Linked DNA regions of Homo sapiens: region 1 is linked to region 2. Evidence: promoter capture Hi-C in human tissues and cell types (Jung and others, 2019). All regions are on one chromosome and are shown on one strand. The core of a region is centred on a gene start or on the middle of the fragment in contact, and the rest is flanking DNA. Distances in the headings are between cores, read along the strand shown. Region 1 overlaps LDLRAD4 (low density lipoprotein receptor class A domain containing 4). Region 2 holds the start of CEP76 (centrosomal protein 76).

Region 1 (4,805 bases), core at 1,333-3,832, 860 kb after region 2:
ACACCGCAAACCCTATCTTTACAAAATTAAAAAAAAAAAATTAGTCAGGCATCATGGCACATGCCCATAGTCCTAGCTGCCCAGGAGGCTGAGCCAGGAGGATCACTTGAGCCCAGGAGTTCAAGCTTACAGTGAGCTATGATCACAACACTGTGCTCCAGCCTGGGTGACAGAGTGAGATCCTGTCTCAAAAGAAAATAAGCAAAAAACTAGACTTTGTCTTCACTTTGAACATGATCCTAACCTAAACTTGACCTTCTCAAACACTAGTGCCTAAGGATGGTTTCTTTAGACAAAGCCTTTTTTTTTTGAGATTGAGTCTCGCTCTTTCGCCCAAGCTGGGGCGCAGTGATGCGGTCTTGGCTCACTGCAAGCTCCGCCTCCCAGGTTCACGCCATTCTCCTGCCTCAGCCTCCCAAGTAGCTGGGACTACAGGCATGCGCTACCACACCCGGCTAATTTTTTATATTTTTAGTAGAGATGGGGTTTCACCGTGTTAGCCAGAATGGTCTCGATCTCCTGACCTCATGATCTGCCTACCTTGGCCTCCCAAAGTACTGTGATTACAGGCGTGAGCCACCACAGCCGGCCTAGACAAAGCTTTTTATAGGGAGACGAGAAATTGTTAAGAAGTGAGCTAAGAATTGTAAAACACTTAGTATGTGGCATTGTAATATATGTGTTATTGTCTGTTGTTACCATCATGATCATCACCATCATCACGTGCATTGAGTAGCTGAAGAACCTCGATACCAGACACCAGTATGTCCAAATTCTTGATGCCCAATCTCATTATTTTCACTTTGAATTTGAATTAGAAGTAAGTTGTTAAACAGGAACAAAATCTAATCATTTTTTCAAGGTACAAAAAAATTCCACATATTGAAATATAATGAATGGTTTTGCAAACTTTGATTGGCACTTTAAAAGGTGTTGGAGTAGGGCGCTCTGGGAAACTGCCTATTGATTGCACTGTTGTCAGTTTCTAAGCAACCATTGCCAAATTTATCTTCATGTCACACAACTTGTGTGTTTATCCAAGCTGGTTGAAATTCTTACCCTTGTGCAAAAATAGACCAGGGTGAATATTGAGTGGGACTGTATCGGAGGAGTGGGCTGCATTCCTCCATAGTTCCCAGTAGGTGTCACTCTGGCAGAAGAAAACAAGACATGATGGGTTCTGAAGACACATCCCTGGGGATCCGCCCAGGCCACAGGGGCATGCAGAAGCACCACTTGCCTACCTCAGTTCCCCTATTCGTACCCGACTTCTCTGGCCAGCAGGGGCAGGTTGCCCAGGCCACGTGGTGAAGAGCATTCCTGGAAAACATTGTTCTAGACCCACCTGGCTACAGACATCCCAGCTTACTCATAAAGCATTAAAGCAGTAATAGAGGAAGAGCTATATCTATGTAGCTGTAACCCGAAGAATTGGCAGCACTTGCTGGGATATGGGTAGCAAATTTTTATTCCTAGTAGGATCGGCACATGTATGGCTCAGTCGTAAATGTTTATCAGCTAGCTGAACGAGTCCCACGAGGACTTCATGTGTTTCTGGGTAATCTTCCATAGGAGTTACTGTTTACTCAGAAATGCAAAATAATTTTGCTATTAGCCAGTGTAACTAAGAAAAATTTTAAAAAGTATGAAAAATATAAAACAGTAAGAAAAATATAAAATATGAACACCCAAAGAGAACCTCTGCCACCATTGCTTTCTGTTAATAGGTGATCAACAGTAAGCATTACATAACCTTGAATTCTCCCACCCAGCCCTCCCCCTGCCCCTCTACAAGAGCAAGTCATCGGGGGCCACCCTGTGCACTAGGGCAATCACAGAAGTGGGAAGCACACCAGCTCCCCAGCTAATGCGACTCGCAGGCACTGAAGTACTGTTACTGTCACTAGACGTGCCACCGGCAGCACCCCAGAATGTAGTACCCCACTGGCTGCAAGACCAGCATTAGATAAAAGTAAGCAGGGAGTCTCGATGGATCACCACTGATCTTTGGTATCTGTAAAGGTGTCACTGTCTCTTTAAGGAAAGAGGGAGTCCCTACTTTCATTTTTCCTCAATAAATAATTTTTGACTGATTAGTGACAAAGGGACACTTTAGTGGGTGATCAGCACAGCATCTGCATGGCTGCTTCCTTGTGGGGTTTCTGAAGCTGCTTCTGTGACTCAGCCCCTCACCAACAAACAAACAAATGAGATAAATCCCAGAGACCTGGAAGAGGGAACCTGCCTTGAAATGGCATTCATGGAAAAGGTCTGGACACTTCAGCCAAGTTATTTGTATAATTTGTTAGTTACATATAAGGCCCAATATGCTAAAAAAATGCAACAGGATTATTAGTCTCTATTTGTCTAGAATTGAAATTTCTAAGTAGGTGTGTGAATTTATATGGGTATGTATCATATATATGTGTATGTATGTACATATACACATGTACACATATATATGACAAATAGCTTACATGTATATATACATATAGAAATGCAAGTATATCTGTGTACATATGTATGTATGTACATTTTATATATGTATATATATACATGTAAGCTATTTGTTATTTCTTCTGTCTAGAGACCAACATCACACTCCCTGAGAGTCAGAAAACTGGGTTCAGACAGCAGCTCTGCAAATGACTTTTCCAGGACATTCGCTAAATCACTGCCCCTCTCCTGGACTCAGTTGCCCATGGAGGAGTTGGCGGGAGATCTCTGATGCCTCTTCCAGTTCAAAGACAGCACAGCTGGTACACAGCCTCTGCTTGTATCCAGACAGCACTTTGCTGCCCCTGACCAAGAAGTGCCTATCTTCAAACCAAGATGTTGGTCTGCCGTTGCATAATCAACAGGGTTGGGCGTTACTACCTAGCAACAAGGAGTCCCTAATCCAGGGCCTTTGCTCTGATAGCTTTTGAGTATTATATGGGTACTTTTTAGCTTTTGGATTAATTGGTAGCAGAAAAAGTGGAACTCTAGTTCCTGTCATGCTTTTATTTTTTTCTTTTTTTGATTTACATTGTTCAGAGCAAATATAGAAACCATGGAATTATTTTCAGGGAATTGAAGCCCTAGAGGGTGTCCCCCTGCTTTTGGGTCTGTTGGCCTGAGCCAACCCCATCCTCAAAACACCCCAGGTGAGACTGCTGAAGGACGAATGTGCACAGCCCATGTCACAAGGAGTCTGTCCGGCTGCTCACCTTTTCTCTGACTTCTGAGCAGGTGTTTGGAAGCTGTAGGTAATGGCCCAATCTCAGAGCCCAAGGGGATTCGGGTCTTTCCCCTGCAGACTGTGCTGCTGTCCTTGGTTGGTCCTTGAAGGGACCTGCATCGTACCTGAGGCTCTGTGCCAGTGGGGATGACGGGGGCTGATGTCTCTTCCCATGGGCTCCTATGGATTTGCCCTTCAGATGACCTGGTAGGGCTCTGAGTGACTGACTTAAAGACCTTCATAACGCCAAAGTGGCAAGATTTTGGAGACAGATTTGTGTCTCCTCATCCATGATTTTTGACTTTAATCTTTTCTGAGAAGACCAGAAATCAGAGAGTTTGTCTTCTCAGCCTCTCTGTGAAAGGATCTGCTGAGCTCAAGCTTCCCTTTTCAGCGTCAGCTTTTTAAGTTGAGAATAATAATTAAAGAAAACTCCAATCTCAATTCCAACATCAAGTGTCCATGAAGCTGTAGTTGTTGCTGTGGCTGAGAAGAAAGTAGAGAACAGAGTGCAGACCTGCGGTTGAAATGACTCTTGGAAGGGCTTGCAGGTGACCTGGGAGCTAGCAGGTGCCTAACACTGTGGCTCTCTTGGCACAAAACAACTTCAAGCCTGTGTGAAATAAAGGAAAACCAGGAGCCTCGTTCTGATTTTTATGGAGACACATCTGTGTGACCTTAGGAAGGTCTCCCAAGAGCTCTGGGTTTGTTTCTTCCCCTGTGAATTGGCTTATGATGTGTCACTTGGCCTTACAGGTATGTAAAGCTCCCCAGTTACCAGATCTTACTGTCTCAGGGAACATCCTGCAGATATTCAGGGCCCACACTGGAGCTATTCTTCAGGTTCCACGTTTGAAAGGTTGAAAGGCGTTAAGAGCGTGACATGAAATGAGTGGGTGAATTTATTTTTAGGAAACAATATATAGGTAATTAGTTTTGGAAATGGGCTTCCGTTAACTTATCACCCCTTACTCTTTTCTGGGGCATCATCCAGTTATTTTTCCTCAGTCATAGAATTTGGGGCTTTTGAAAATGTCTCTTCGAGAAATAGACACACACCTTGCAACTCCTTAAGATCTTGCCCTTGTAATTAAATTTTTGAGCACCATTTTTATATAGGAGTAAATGAGATAATTAAGAGATATTTCAAGAAAGAGAAGTATATGAGAAAATAAATGGTTTCTGCTGCGTGATTAAACACTGCAGCTGAGACCTTGATGAGCAGTCATTTGTTGGAAGTGTACTTCATCATCGGGAGTGGTGTCCTGATTATCGTTCAAGAAACATGTTGGGAGAAGGCAAAGACGGACGTGATGACACCTGTGCAAAGACGGACGTGATGACATGTATGCCGAAGCGTGTCTTGACTCAGTGTAGGATTGATACCAACATCTCTTGGATGTTGTGGGATATGGAGCATTAAAATATACAATAATTTATGCTAGTGGTGCAGTGTAATGAGGACTTGCTGTGAATCTCAAATCGATTTCGGAGAAGCTGAACCTAATGTTTTCCTGATTGTCAAACCCTCCAGTAATGATTATAAATAACCACTGTTTTCTTTATATTAGAGAAAACCTAAAAG
Region 2 (4,791 bases), core at 643-3,142:
TAGTAAACAGAATGACCTTGAAGTGGTTTTACTAAAACGAAAGGCCCCACATCGGAACCTTATAAGTAGTGTTACGCATTAGTATATACATATATACTCTCATTTATTTCCCTAAAAGATTACTCACAGTAACAAAATTAAGTTCTTTCATCACATCGTCAATGATTCCTCGACGTCTAAGGGCTTTGATCAAATCTTCTGTTGATAAATGCTGTTGATCAGGTGCCAATTCTTCCCGTATAGTCTCAGCAAGGATTTCTCTTATTCTACCATGGACATCCATCTATGTAGAAAACTCATATTACAATTTATAACATCACAAAGCAGTCAAATACTGCTTCTGAAGTTTTAAGGTTCTCCAGCTAACAGTAAATGCACAATTGTTACCACAATTGAATGGGAACAAAGGTAAGCTTTTAAAGAATGAATCTTTTGAGTACAAATTCTAGAAATAGTCTCCACTGGTTATCTGGCACCTTTGTTACCATTTCTCCACAAACAACACTCAACCAAAAGGAATCTTCTGAGAGGGAGTATAGTATAATCAGAAGAACACGGACTGGGAGTAGGCAGATCAAAGTATGATCTTATTACTTTCATACTTTGATCTGCCTAATGATAAGGGAATCTTACCAGCTTTCAACTTAGTAGATGTGTAACCTCAAGCCAACTTATTTACCCTTTATAAATCTGTTTCGTCACCGATAAGAATGGAAAAACCTAGTGTAGTGCCCTCTCACGATAGTGTTGTGAGGATTAAAGATACTAGACAGCACAAAGCCTGGCACACAAGGGCACCATAAATGGTCGCTTTTATCACTTCAGCATCTTGCACTCAGTCGAGCGAGCGCTGCAGAAACTGGAGGTTCTTCTGGAGCTCCGAAATATTAACAAATTCCGTCATTACAAACCCTTTAGTAACTTCTCTTCCATGACTTATTTGAGAATTGCTGATTGAAGCTCCTGGTTCAACTTCGCTGATACCCACATGTTTCAGCGGTAAAGAAACCCTGATATCTGCCGGGCGCGGAGGCTCACGCCTGTAATCCCAGCACTTTAGGAGGCCGAGGCGGCCGGATCACGAAGTCAGGAGTTCGGGACCAGCCACACCAACATGGTGAAACCGTCTCTACTAAAAATACAAAAATTAGCCGAGCGTGGTGGCGCGCGCCTGTAATCCCAGCTACTCGGGAGGCTGAGGCGGAGAATCGCTTAAACCTGGGAGGCGGAGGTTGCAGTGAGCCGAGATCGTGCCACTGCACTCCAGCCTGGGCAACAGAGAGACTCCGTCTCAAGAAAGAAAAAAAACCTGATATCTTACAGCAGAATATAAACCTCCAAATACAACTTACACTCGATCCGACTTCCAGAAGTCGCTCGCTAAGCGCTTCATTCTCACGGCCGTCCTAAAACGCCAAGACCGCTCGTTCTATCGCCCCAGACTCTTGCTAGCACCTGCTCGGCTCGTTTTCTTTCTCGGAGACGAGGACGCTCTCCTGCCTCAAACTCAAAGCTCTGCCTACTCTGCGTTGCGCACCCCACAATCCTCGCTACAGTCCCGGCAAGCAGATGCCGCTGTCGGCCCGGGGCCGCCGGGCAGGAGGGAAAGGTTATGGGTCGGCCCGGCGGTCTCTCCCAGCACCCGCGACTCTCACCTTGCTCAGCTGCTGGTGGATGAGCTGCTTCAGCTCGGAGGCTTTCTCCGGAGGCAGCGACATGCTGGCAGCCGGCGTCTCCCCGCCGCTTCTCCCCGCCTCAGATGCCCTAACTGCGCGGCCCCGGCCGGGCCAGGGAGCGTTAGGAGCGACTGGAGCACAAAGCGCCGCAGCCGTTCGCCTAGCGCAGCTCCCGGGGGACGCAACGCCGCGTCAGGCCGGGGGCTGACCTGGAAATGAGGCCCCGGCGGCGGCGGCGCCAACTGTTTTCAAACAGTGGCGGACAAACAGGGCTTGGGGCTGGCCCGCACGCTGCCTGATCGTTTCCGCCCGCCGCTCCACCTCCCCGCGGGCCCCGCACCCCGAGACCTCAGCGCACCCCATCGCCTTGCTTGCCAGGGTCTCCGAAAGCGCTGCTGGCCCCTCTTCGCGGCCACCCGGCGGCCTCTTTCCGCCCTCTGAACCGGCAGTTAGCTGGACGGGCCTCAAGGGCCCGGCGCCCAGGGACTCAAAGGACCCTCCCGCGCCCCGCGAGGCTCCGGGGTCTCGGGCTTCCGCCTTCTTGCTGCCCTCGTTCTTGCCAGGGCCGCGGTTAGTCCCTGCTGGCCACCCCACTGCGACCATGTTCGTTCCCTGCGGGGAGTCGGCCCCCGACCTTGCCGGCTTCACCCTCCTAATGGTGAGTCTCCATTTGCGCTCGGGGCTGCCGCCTCCCGAGGCCCCTGCGGTGTCGCCACCCCGACGCGGGGTGTTTGGCGGTGCCTTGGGAGAAATAGGGCACTAGTTTCTATTTCATGTTTTCGGCCGGAAAAAACAGGGAGGTTGTAGCCGGAGGCAGCCGTCCAAACAGAACCTTTGTCGGCTGTAAAACCAAACGTAGTCAAGTCTACAATTTGTAGTCTCTGTTTCCTGTAAAACGTGATGTGTTCGTACGTTCTAGATACACTGTACTTATGTTTTGCAGGGCATCCTTCAGTTTTATCCTAGAAAGTCTTTCTACGACTAGTTTTAGAATTAGTCTTAAGCTAGCATATTATCGTTGTTAACCGGAGAACTACTGATAGGGCAATAAACATTAACTCTTGCCGGTAGTTAGCGCAGTTTTATCGCTCTTTATATTCATTCATTGTTTTAATAAAGTCTGTTATGTGCGAGTATTAGAATAAGACTAGGTGCGTGCCCTCAAAGAATTTACACTGTAGTTGGAAACATGTAATCTAAGAGCAATAAATGCTAGGCTAGAAGCTTGAAAGGGTATAGAAAGGTCCTGAGATAATTGGGAGGGGAGGGACAGATGGCTTGTTAAGAAAGGCTTTATAGAGAAAGTAGTATGCAAAAGATGGAGGGCCCGTGGGCTGGGAGTAGGGGAAAGTAGGCGTTTCAGAAAGATGGATGTCTAAAACAGAGTCAGTAAGCAGGGGGACTTGAAGACTGCCAAGAATTTGGAATGACACATTGAGAGAGAATAGGCTGTAGGCCCTGTGAACCCAGAAGGCACCATTGGAAAATGCACTGTTTGGAGTGGTATAAGGCTGGAGAGAGCTGGAAGTGTCATCCTTATTCATTACATATAAAACACACAGCCCCAGAGAAGAGTGTTTCAAAAAGGAGGGAGTGGCCATGTCAAAAGTAGCCCAGAGATGTGTAAGGTGAAGAAAGTGTATGTTTGGATTTAGCGACATGTTAATGATGGTCACCTGGACAAACAGTTACCAGTGAAGTGGTGAAGAGGAAAGCCATATTGGAGTGGGTTGAATGAATGATAGAAAACAAGTTAAAGATTTGGGTTGTATAATATATATTCAGTCATTAATTCAGAGACAGGCATGATGGCTCATGCCTGTAATCCCAGCACTTTAGAAGGCCGAGTACAGGAGGATCGCTTGAGCTCAGGAGTTCAAGACCAGCCTGGGCGACATAGTGATACCTCATCTCTACAAAAAAATAAATAAAAATTAGCCAGGTGTGGTTTCCTGCACCTGTATCTCAGCTACTCGGGAAGCTGAGGTGGGAGGATCACTTGAGCCCAGGAAGCAGAGGCTGCAGTGAGCTGAAATCGTGCCACTGCACTCCAGCCTGGGCGACAGAGTGAGACCCTGTCTCAAAAAACTTTTTTTTAATAAGAGATAAAGTTTCTGCTTATGTTTTCGTGGACGACTTGGAGAATTTTTGCTACATAGAGAAACAAGAAATGAGGTTGCAGTTAGAGGGCTATGTGGGGTCAAGGGAGAGCCTTTTAGAATGAAAGATATTAGAGCATGTTTACGTGCTGATGGGAATAATACAATATTGTGAGGAAAAGAAGGATGGTACAGAAGAGTTTAACCCAAGTAGCAAAATCGTTGAGAAGGGAATTGCAGGAGGTAACTAGGCAATTGGTAGGTGACAACAGTGAAAAGTGGGAGAACATGCTGAGGGAACACCCGAAGGACAGAAAACAAAAGGAGTTGTTGGAAGAATGCAAAGGAGGAGCTACATTAAAAGGATACTTGGGGGATAGCCTCAATAAAAATTAGGCATGTATTAGATGTAGTTGGTAAGGGAATGGGAAGAAGTTTAGGTAGATTGAATAATATTGAACTTTTTTTTTTTTTTGAGATGGAGTTTTGCTCTTTTTTGCCCAGTCTGGAGTGCAATGGCACGATCTTGGCTCACTGCAACCTCTGCCTCCTGGGTTCAAGTGATTCTCCTGCCTCTGCCTCCCGAGTAGCTGGGATTATAGGCATGCACCACCACGCCCAGCTAATTTTGTATTTTTGGTAGAGACAGGGTTTCACCATGTAGGCCAGGCTGGTCTCAAACTCCTAACCTCAGGTGATCCACCTGCCTCGGCCTCCCAAAGTGCTGGGATTACAGGCATGAGACACCATGCCCGGCGCCCTTTTCTAAAATACAAAATATGGGGAAAAATTTGGGCAAAAGTTTATAGTTTTGGACATGTGGAATGTGAGTTTCCTGTGACCTAACCATGTGGAGACGTCCATTAGGTTGTGGAGCTCCTACGTGTTCTGGGATGTAGGTAGGGATTTGGCAGCTTCATTATTTTAAGTCATGGGAAAAAGAGAGAGAGAGAGAGAGAGAGAGAGAGAGAGTGTGTGTGTGTGTGTGTGTGTGTGTGTTTAGTGTGAAAAGATCA

Evidence for each region. Contacts are between HindIII fragments. The study calls those that stand out against the background at their distance.
Region 1: a contact is called between a fragment that was not itself captured here and the fragment with the promoter of CEP76 in region 2, in 1 of the 25 tissues and cell types used here (lymphoblastoid cells).

Annotation. Positions count from the first base shown.
Region 1 is chr18:13,557,109-13,561,913 of GRCh38, forward strand. The region is part of intron 4 of LDLRAD4 (low density lipoprotein receptor class A domain containing 4); the gene reads left to right. Among named protein-coding and RNA genes, the nearest start is that of MIR4526, 52 kb to the right of the region's middle. RefSeq lists an enhancer at 1,314-1,413. The HindIII fragment of the contact is 4,441 bases long and covers 363-4,803 here.
Region 2 is chr18:12,700,831-12,705,621 of GRCh38, forward strand. CEP76 (centrosomal protein 76) reads right to left here and starts at 1,893. Exons shown (of 12, transcript NM_024899.4): 1 at 1,656-1,893; 2 at 128-283. The coding sequence starts at 1,718. It overlaps PSMG2 (proteasome assembly chaperone 2), which reads left to right and starts at 2,212. Exons shown (of 7, transcript NM_020232.5): 1 at 2,212-2,334. The coding sequence starts at 2,278. RefSeq lists enhancers at 1,038-1,935, 1,221-1,520, 1,531-1,580. The HindIII fragment of the contact is 6,809 bases long and covers 1-4,791 here.